Linked DNA regions of Homo sapiens: all the other regions are linked to region 1. The links are contacts of gene promoters, found by promoter capture Hi-C in blood cells and fetal thymus (Javierre and others, 2016). All regions are on one chromosome and are shown on one strand. Each heading gives the region's core, a stretch centred on a gene start or on the middle of the fragment in contact. The rest is flanking DNA. Distances are from core to core; before and after follow the strand shown.

What was found. Contacts are between HindIII fragments. The CHiCAGO score rates a contact against its expected background, and 5 or more counts as called.
Region 2: a contact is called between a fragment that was not itself captured here and the fragment with the promoter of BIRC2 in region 1, in 9 of 17 cell types (M1 macrophages, M0 macrophages, M2 macrophages and 6 more). The highest score is 14.8, in M1 macrophages.
Region 3: a fragment that was not itself captured here is called in contact with the fragment with the promoter of BIRC2 in region 1 in 10 of 17 cell types (M1 macrophages, M0 macrophages, naive B cells and 7 more); the score reaches 8.2 in M1 macrophages.

The regions. Positions count from the first base shown.
Region 1 is chr11:102,345,482-102,348,714 of GRCh38, forward strand. BIRC2 (baculoviral IAP repeat containing 2) reads left to right here and starts at 1,733. Exons shown (of 9, transcript NM_001166.5): 1 at 1,733-1,895; 2 at 3,117-3,233. RefSeq lists an enhancer at 2,285-2,354. The HindIII fragment of the contact is 3,484 bases long and covers 226-3,233 here.
Region 2 is chr11:102,646,906-102,650,138 of GRCh38, forward strand. The region is part of intron 1 of MMP20-AS1 (MMP20 antisense RNA 1); the gene reads left to right. Among named protein-coding and RNA genes, the nearest start is that of MMP20-AS1, 7.4 kb to the left of the region's middle. RefSeq lists an enhancer at 26-195. The HindIII fragment of the contact is 4,636 bases long and covers 1-3,233 here.
Region 3 is chr11:102,629,117-102,632,349 of GRCh38, forward strand. No RefSeq gene overlaps it. Among named protein-coding and RNA genes, the nearest start is that of MMP20, 5.4 kb to the left of the region's middle. The HindIII fragment of the contact is 2,441 bases long and covers 251-2,691 here.

The sequences.
Region 1 (3,233 bases), core at 483-2,982:
ACTGCAGCAGACATACATAGCTTATTTTTTTAAGATTAACAGCAACTTTATACTAGCAAAATGAAAAAAAATTAACTGAATAAACAGGTAACTGAATTAACTAGCTGTAACACTAGACTACAAAGTTATACAAGATTAAAAGTTATGAGGTACTATTTATTATATGTAAATATTACAAATATTTTTTGTTAAAAATATCTAAGGCTTTTGAGTTTTTGAAATGCAAGCTTTCCCCTATACTTAAGTATATTCATTATCTTACTGCTTTGGTCAGGACAAGAACTGAAAAAGAGAAATAATCTTGAGTTCAGAATGAACAATTCTTGCTATATATATTTTCCCACATGTGTTAGGAATGTTCTGTAAACCTTCCGAGAAATAGTGACTTGAACTAAATACTAAACTACTACCAAGCCCCAGGTGCATTTTTGGAAGTTTTTAGTCATTGGGAGCCATGGCATTTCTTTTCTCTGTATTACAAACTGTTACACTCACTTTCTTTGACTATTAACATTGGAACAGTAGACCTCCTGTTCTGTGACTGACTGGCAGGCAGAAATGACACAGACAGGAAATGGGAAATGGTTCAGGGTCTTGGAATTCCCCCGGCTCCCTAATTAAGTGGCTTGCTATTTGGAAGTTTTTTAAATATTTGCCCCTTGGAGTTCCCCAGAGAGAAGCAAGCATCGGATTCAACGGGCAAAGAGCGTCAACTTCAAAAGTCGTTCGTTGGTTGTCATACCACAAACATTTACTGCACGACACTGTGTCTATGGCACTATTGGGGGAGTATGGCGGGGGGATACAAAAGGTCCATGACTAGCAAAAGCCAAGGGTTTTTATTTACAAATTTTCTATTACCTAAGCATTAAAAAAAATTGGGCTCCTCTCTGGTTTATGTACAATTATATGTGCATGTACACCAATACACAGGCAGACGTATATATTTCATTTTATTGAAACATTCAGAAAATACTGGGAGTGAAGCCTGACTTGCAATACAGTTCTCTTTGCTGGCAATGAGCATCTGAAATAATGACACTTTTTTCTTTAGTGCATATGAACTGTTTGTCTCCAGAACAGAAAACCAAAAGTTTAAAAACAAGATACTCCCGTTGACATCAAGTCTTCAGAATTATTCATCTGATGCTTCCTAGTTTCCAAAGTTTCGCTTTTTTCGATTTGCACAGGCAGCTGTTGAACGCTGATGCTACACAAACGGTTACAATTGTTTACTTAAGCAAAAAATGCCACCAGACTGACTCCATCCTCAAAATGCAGTCATCTGGACGGGGGGAGGCATCACACTTGGGGAGCCTTGCCAGGGGCCAGATCATAACCCTGAGGTGACACAGGGTAGGACGCGCAAAACCACCGGCGCCAGGGCGTTTCCGCAGGGTTTCCCAAAACTCAAACGCAGCGGCTCACGGTTTGCCACGTCCCCCAGGAGAATGGTAGACACAGAGAGGAAATGTGGAGAGGGCACAAACCGCAAGGTGAAGAAAACGAACAAACACCGAGTTGATACGGATAGTCCCCGTTCCCCTGAGGGCCGACCCCGTGACTCCCGATGAGCGTCCAGTTGCGCCGGGCATCCTGGCCTCCCAGCGTCTTTCCCGGAGGTTCATCGCCGCACGGCGGAAAGCGCTCTCGGTTCCGCTTTCCGGCCCCAGCCTCCCGGGCGCCCTCGCGCGGCGGCTAACGCTGGTCCTCGGCCGGGCGCGCTGACGTCATCGTGCGTCAGAGTGAGCCCGGATGGGGCGGCGGGCTTCGGGAGCGCCCGGGCTGATCCGAGCCGAGCGGGCCGTATCTCCTTGTCGGCGCCGCTGATTCCCGGCTCTGCGGAGGCCTCTAGGCAGCCGCGCAGCTTCCGTGTTTGCTGCGCCCGCACTGCGGTGAGTGCTGCTCCTTCCGGGCTCGGGCGGCGTGGGGCGGGTGGGGACGCGAGGGCCCGCGGGGGCCCACTTCCCTGATGTGGCGGCGAACGAGGAAGGACGGGGCCTGAGGCCCTTCGGCCAAGGGTCGAGGGTCGCCGGGGGCTCTCTGCTTTCTACTCTCGCCAAGGTTTTATTGGATTCGGAAGCCCCAACTTCGAGACTTGCAGTCAAAGCGATTTTTAAAATGACTTGTTTTCAAGCCTCTGGCCGCCGCCCACTCTTCTGGCCCTTGGACTTTGACCAAGATGTTTTCTCGCAGTTTTTGCAAGGTTTTAAACTTAGCCCTCGGCGTTCTTTTAATGTAATACATTGAAACGAAGATATTTCGGTGGCGGCGATATTTCATATTTCATAGTTGCCACTGCGCTCTGTCATTCCAGTAGTCGTCTGTTGTGTATTGTGAGAAGCAACTCTGGGAAATTATTGGGTAAATCCCATAGTTTCTATTCTTTTCCCTTCCATCCTATCCCCTGCCCAGCTGCAATTTGCGTAAAGAGAATGCAGCAGTGCGGTGCACGTAGATAAAAATCTTTCATTTAAAGATAGGATATAAGACCGGGTGTAATTAAAGCAATCATGCCAGTGGTCGTAGTGCCGGAGCCACTGTTTCACAGGCCACTGTGTTAGGTTTTGTTTTCGAGTTGCTTTCTGTGGTCGTTGCTTTGAAATTGTAAGGGAATGGCAGAGTTTAAGAGTTTATATTAATGAACTCGTGGTGCATTTTACTGCAGTTTTCCTAGTCGTGGAGAGACTTGATATTACAAACTAACGTTGCTGTCTTAATTCCTGCTGTACTGCTGCTGACAGGGTGTAGTGGAGTGTCTGTCTGTCTTTTTAACCAATGTGCCTTTGCCTCCAGCAGAGTGCCAGAGTTACCTTTAGGCCAGAAAAGGGGAGGAGAGCAAGGACAAAATGTTTCCTGTGTGAAAATTTCCATCTGTCTCTGAAGTTGTGCGTTTTAAAGACACGTATAGTTAGTGCTATGGGGAGTATGTTGCATTTACTTATTTTAATTAATAGCTTTTTCATTTAGAAAGTTGTGACAAATTGCTGGAATTAAGATGTATTATCTAAAGTGTGAATTATTCTTAGACTTTACTGAATAAATTGAAGAGTATGTAAGTTCTATTTGGCATGCACATACAGTTTTCTAAAATACTTTTTGTTTTTTCTTTTCAGATTTACAACCCTGAAGAATCTCCCTATCCCTATTTTGTCCCCCTGCAGTAATAAATCCCATTATGGAGATCTCGAAACTTTATAAAGGGATATAGTTTGAATTCTATGGAGTGTAAT
Region 2 (3,233 bases), core at 441-2,940, 300 kb after region 1:
TACTGAGATTACAGGTGTGACCTATCACACCCAGCACTTTTTTGCTTACTATTGCTTTGCTATATAATTTCAAACCAGGAAGTATGATACCTCCAACTTTGCTTTTGTTTCGTAGTACTGCTTTGGCTATTTGGATTTTTTTTGTATGTGGTTCCGTACAAATTTTAGGATTGTTTTTTCTATTTCTGTGAAAAAAGCCATTGGAATTTTGGTAGGGGTTGCATTAAATCTGGGTATTGCTTTGGGTGGTATGGACATAAACAATCCGGTTTCTTTTCCGCTTGCATAAATCTTTTGGCTTTTCTTCTTCTCTTTTCAAATAGAACTTTAAACTCCTCACTTTTCTACTATGCAGAACAATTTAACAGACAGCACTTGTTTCTTGAGCATGCACCAGCAGGATATGGGGTGAGTCTTACCCTTGACCAGTAGTTATTAATCAAGACATCTATTCCAGGACAAATACGATGCTTTCCCTAACAGGGATTTGGGTGAATGAGATTTTTCTTCATCTCATTACGTTTTCACATATACTTCTAAATAAATGATTCCCTTCCTTTGTTCTTTCAACATAGTGCTTAATTTCCAGAAATACAACCTTGTTTCCTCTCTTTTTGGTTCTCTGCTCAGGTCAACACCCATCATCTAGTTTTAGACCCACAGCTGATTACATGGTTCTAAAATAAGCCAGACTGCTCCAGATTGTAGCATTTATAGGTTGTTGAAAGTGCTGGTGACTCAGTTCCTGGAGTTTGTCAAACACCACCACTGCCAACACAAGCTATGTTTTGCCATCATCTTCATTATTATTGTTGTCATCCTCATTATTTTTTGCTTTCCATTGGATTTCTAGGTTTCCCACTCTGCTTATTTTGTTCTACTAGTGAGCTGTTCTTTTTTTTTGGTACTCTTTAAAAGAATTCTAAAGGTTAAAATAGTGTATGTAATAGTTGCTTGATGGATTCACTTTGGCCGATTCAAGGCATATTGATCATATGAAGGCTGATCATTTGGTTGTGGACTTCTTGTCCTGCTGTCTTAAGAAAGACTTTTGAGGCCGGGCGCGGTGGCTCACACCTGTAATCCCAGCACTTTGGGAGGCCGAGGCGGGCGGATCACGAGGTCAGGAGATCGAGACCATCCTGGCTAACACGGTGAAACCCCGTCTCTACTAAAAATAAAAAAAATTAGCCGGGCGAGGGGGCGGGCGCCTGTAGTCCCAGCTACTCGGGAGGCTGAGGCAGGAGAATGGCGTGAACCCCAGGGGGCGGAGCCTGCAGTGAGCCGAGATTGCGCCACTGCACTCCAGCCTGGGCGACAGCGAGACTCCGTCTCAAAAAAAAAAAAAAAAAAAAAAAAAAAAGAAAGACTTTTGAAAAATGTGGTGATAGAAACACCTTGCAGCACGCTAAGGGAGCCATGCTATGGTCTGAATGTGCCCTCCCCAAATTCATGTGTTGAAACTTAATTGCCAATGTGATAGTATTAAGAGGTGGGGGTTTAAGTCATGAGGGCGGAGCCTTTGGGATTAGCATGTTTAAAAGAGGTGTGAGGGAACTGGTCACACTTTCTGCTACATGAGGATGCAATAAGAGGTGCCATCTTGGAGATAGAGAGCAGTTCTCACCAGACACTAAATCTGCTGGTGCCTTCATCTTGGACTTTCCAGCCTCCAGAACTGTGAGAACATAGATTTGGCATGGCCACTTTCCCCTTCCAACTCATCCATCGGGGAGTAGGTAACAATGTGTTATGGCTGCGGAGCTTTCTCCCTACAAAGGAAACACCAGGAATGACGAAGCAATCATTTCCCCCAACAGTCCTTTGCTTCTTTTTTTTTTTTTCTTTTTTTTAAAATTATATTTTCAATTGTTTTCAACTTTTATTTTAGGTTCATGGGGTACATGTGCAGGTTGTTATATGGGTAAATTGCATGTTGCAGGGATTTGGCGTACTAATAATTTTGTCACCCAGGTAATCAACATAGTACCCAATAGGTAGTTTTTAAATCCTCACCCTTCTCCCACTTTCTACCCTCAAGAAGGCCCTGGTGTCAATTGTTCCGTTGTTTGTGTCCATGTGTACTAAATGTTTACCTTCCACTTATTTTATTTATTTATTTATTTATTTATTTTATTTTCTTATTATTATACTTTAAGTTTTAGGGTACATGTGCACAACGTGCAGGTTTGTTACATATGTATACATGTGCCATGTTGGTGTGCTGCACTCATTAACTCGTCTTTTAGCATTAGATATATCTCCTAATGCTATCCCTTTCCCCTCCCCCCACCCCACAACAGTCCCCGGTGTGTGATGTTCCCCTTCCTGTGTCCATGTGTTCTCATTATTCAATTCCCACCTATGAGTGAGAACATGCGGTGTTTGGTTTTTGTCCTTGCGATAGTTTGCTGAGAATGATGGTTTCTAGCTTCATGTCCCTACAAAGGACATGAACTCATCATTTTTAATGGCTGCATAGTATTCCATGGTGTATATGTGCCACATTTTCTTAATCCAGTCTATCCTTGTTGGACATTTGGGTTGATTCCAAGTCTTTGCTATTGTGAATAGTGCCGCAATAAACATACGTGTGCATGTGTCTTTATAGCAGCATGATTTATAGTCCTTTGGGTATATACCCAGTAATGGGATGGTCGGGTCACATGGTATTTCTAGTTCTAGATCCCTGAGGAATCGCCACACTAACTTCCACAATGGTTGAACTAGTTTACCCTCCCATCAACACTGTAAAAGTGTTCCTATTTCTCCACATCCTCTCCAGCCCCTGTTGTTTCCTGACTTTTTAATGATCGCCATTCTAACTGGTGTGAGATGGTATCTCACTGTGGTTTTGATTTGCATTTCTCTGATGGCCAGTGATGGTGAGCATTTTTTCATGTGTTTTTTGGCTGCATAAATATCTTATTTTGAGAAGTGTCTGTTCATATCCTTCGCCCACTTTTTGATGGGGTTGTTTGTTTTTTTCTTGTAAATTTGTTTGAGTTCACTGCAGATTCTGGATATTAGCCCTTTGTCAGATGAGTAGGTTGCATAAATTTTCTCCCATTCTGTAGGTTGCCTGTTCACTCTGATGGTAGTTTCTTTTGCTGTGCAGAAGCTCTTTAGTTTAATTAGATACCATTTGTCAATTTTGGCTTTTGGTGTTTTAGACATGAAGTCGTTGCCCATACCTATGTCCTGAATGGTATTGCCTAGGTTTTCTTCTAGGA
Region 3 (3,233 bases), core at 221-2,720, 280 kb after region 1:
CTCAGAGAGGACCTGGCAAGCTTATATCCAGAAGCCAACTGGTTTGTTTTCACCAAGAACAGAAAAAGAAAGAGAAAAAGGAAGGGAAGGGAAGAAAAAAAAATACACTTACTTTGTACTGTAGGTAACTTTGGTTAGAGAGGAAGAAGCAAACAGCCTTCTGATTTGGCAATTATTAGCATTAAAATGAACCATTAAAGAAGGTTGTGAGGTTGCCTTCAGCAGTCTTTGAGTATAGGATAGAATATCAAGCTTTTAGAAAAGATTTGGTTCAGTGGGGTTTTGCCTATCTGCTCAGGCTTGGGGTATGTGAAAAGAACTTAGATTAGATTGCTCTGCCAAATTTTATTCATATATATATATATATATACACACACATATATAATTTATAAATACTTATTGATATAATTTTTACATATACAATAAGTAAAATACCTTCATATTTTCAACAAAGATTTATTAAGTATCAGTTGTTTGTTAGGCACCAGGAATACAGAGATAGGAAACACTGTTTTAACACTCTAGGAGCTCAAAATTTACTGCTGCAATAAAATTGAACTTGGAGTAAAATCAGATAAAGATCGACTTAATCTTAGTGATAAAAATGTGTCTTTACATTGCAAATTGGTAGAATCCTTCTAAAAAAGTATAAATGATTTAGCAATGTGTAAAATATTAAAAGGACAATTTTAACCAAAAAGGCAAATAAAAATTACACAACATTTGATTCTGTATCTGCCAAGGAGAAGTATATAGGCAAAAAAAAAAAAAAAAAGGAATAAAAGGAAACCTGGGGTAAAGAAAACAGTAGTGTGAGGGGTAGGGCCTTACACCTACCAATTCTTATAAAATTTCCTTTAATGCTACCATGCATTACATTTCAAAACAGTAAGTGAAAGTGTGAAAGACTATATCAACGTACCCTTTATATTTGTACTTGAGTAAACAGAAGACATACAGGATGAACTCAGTGGCATATTTAACTTATTCTTTTGTTCAGTTGTGATTCTTCTTTCTATTTACTCAGTCTAGAACTCTTGTATTTATTCTACATGCTGGCACTAGACTTAGTCCTGGAGGTACAAAAGGCAAATAAAACCTGTCCTTAACCAGAGTCTTAGAATCTCCAGGGAGAGACTCAGATATACACTCAAAATACCTTACAGTGTAATTAGTAAAAAAAAAAAAAGAAAGGTATTTAAAGGTCCAAATGAGGGCAGAAGAGGGAAAGCCCATCTCTGCCTGGGCAGCTGAGAATGAGAGTAAAATGGAGGAAAGTAGGGGCCAGGGCAGACTTTCCATGGGGATGGGGCTTTAGTTGAGGGCTGATTGCTAATGGAATTAGAAGTCACCTGCAAGAAGGGTGCAGTGAGAAGGAAGGAGAGTGACAGGTAGTGGGAAGGGGGAAATTCCAAGCAGATGAGGCGATGAGGTAAGGAGATGTTAAAGAAGAGCATCTCTTCTAAGAAACTGAAGATATTTCTATGTACAAGGCAGTTTGGGGGCAGCCAACAGGAGGTGGGCAGAAAAGAAAGGCAGAGACCGGTCTGTTGGAGGACGCCTCTCACCCACAGTTCCAGGTACTGACACAGAAAAGCAGAGGCCAGGAGTCATTTGCCGGGTGAACCTTGGTCAAAGGGAAAGCCAGAGAGCAATTTCTAGCACAAGCTGCAGATCCAAAGGGCAGGACTGACATGAGGCTCCAGGGTGCAGAGCTGGAATATGGTTGGCAAAACAGAGAAGGCAGAAGATGGGCAGAATGGCATGGAACAAATCCGGAGCAGCCACAGTGCAGCAAAGGCTTGGAGGGCTTGTGGGGTTTTATTTAAAGGGCCTGGAGAGGAGTGTGCTGGGCAACGTCACAGGCATCTTGTGTGCCAGGCTAAGGCATCTAGACATTAATGGTTTGTGATGGGAAACCACTGGAGAGTTTCTTCCCCAGCAATGACATGATGAGGTTTGCATTTACAGGAAGATTGCTCTGAAAGGAGCATGCGGGATGGATCGGAGGGGAGTGAGGATGGAGGCTGCCGGGGGCACCAAGGGGAGGGTTATAGGAGGTCCAGTCACAAGGCTTACCGTTATGTTTATCTTAGGTCATGAACTGTGAGAGACGAGCTGTCAGTATAAAGAGCATTTTGTTTATTCTTGTAAAATCTCTGGCATATATTGCAATGATCACCAATGTGAGCTTTTGAGATTGGATAGTAAATGTGTTTACAGCTGCCTGTGTAGAGGGCGGGATGTCAAAAGTCCCATTAGAGCACATTCCACTTGCCCAGTCATTTTAGTGAGTCAATTTGCTAAATTATAGACTTATTTCAGCATACAAATCAGCAATTCTGGAAGCTGATAGTTTGCCTGGCAGCTTCTTTTGAACATCTCCATTTTTTCTTAGAGTGTTGTCTACAGGTAAAATCAATTTAACTATTTTGAAAGATCTACCTTATCCCCAGTGCTATCGTCTGAATGTTTGTGTTGCCCACCCCCCCCACCCAAATTCATATGTTGAAATTCTCGCTCCCAAGGTGATAGCACTAGTAGGTGGGGCCTTTGGGGTGTGATTAGGCTATGAGGCTGCAGCCCTCGTGATTGGAATAAGTGTCCTTATTAAAGATGCTCCGGGGAGCTGCCTTGCCCCCTCCAGCAAGTAAGGACACAGCAGAAAGGCACCGTCTATGTATCAGGGAAAGCTTCCTTGATCTTGGGTGTTCCAGGCTCCATAACTGTGAGAAATAAATTTTTGTTGTTTATAGGCCACCTAGTTTATGGTATTTTGTTATAGCGACCCAAATAAACTAAGACAAACCTGGAGCATATTGTGGTGCCAGGTAGTAAAATGATGAAGGAATGTTTAAAGGACACGATCCAGCTTGTTGGAGCCCCCTCTGGGTTAATCTAAGACACTTTGAGCATCAAAATCCATAATGATAGTAATGGATTGTGGTCCATTGAATGAAATAAAAACTCATGAGTCTGTACTGATATAAACAAGCAATAATGGGGAGAAGAGAAAGCACTTCCTTATGGTAAAAAGGTAACATAAATACATGTAGAAAGAATGATGGCTTTAGAAAATATGCATTTGGTCAACAGGGAAGTGCAAACCAAAACCACAGTGAGATATCATCTTACCCCAGTAAAAATGGCTGTTATCAGAAAGACAAAAAATAGCAGATGCTTGTGAGGATGCAGAGAAAGAGATGCGCTAATACACTGTTGGTGGAAATGTA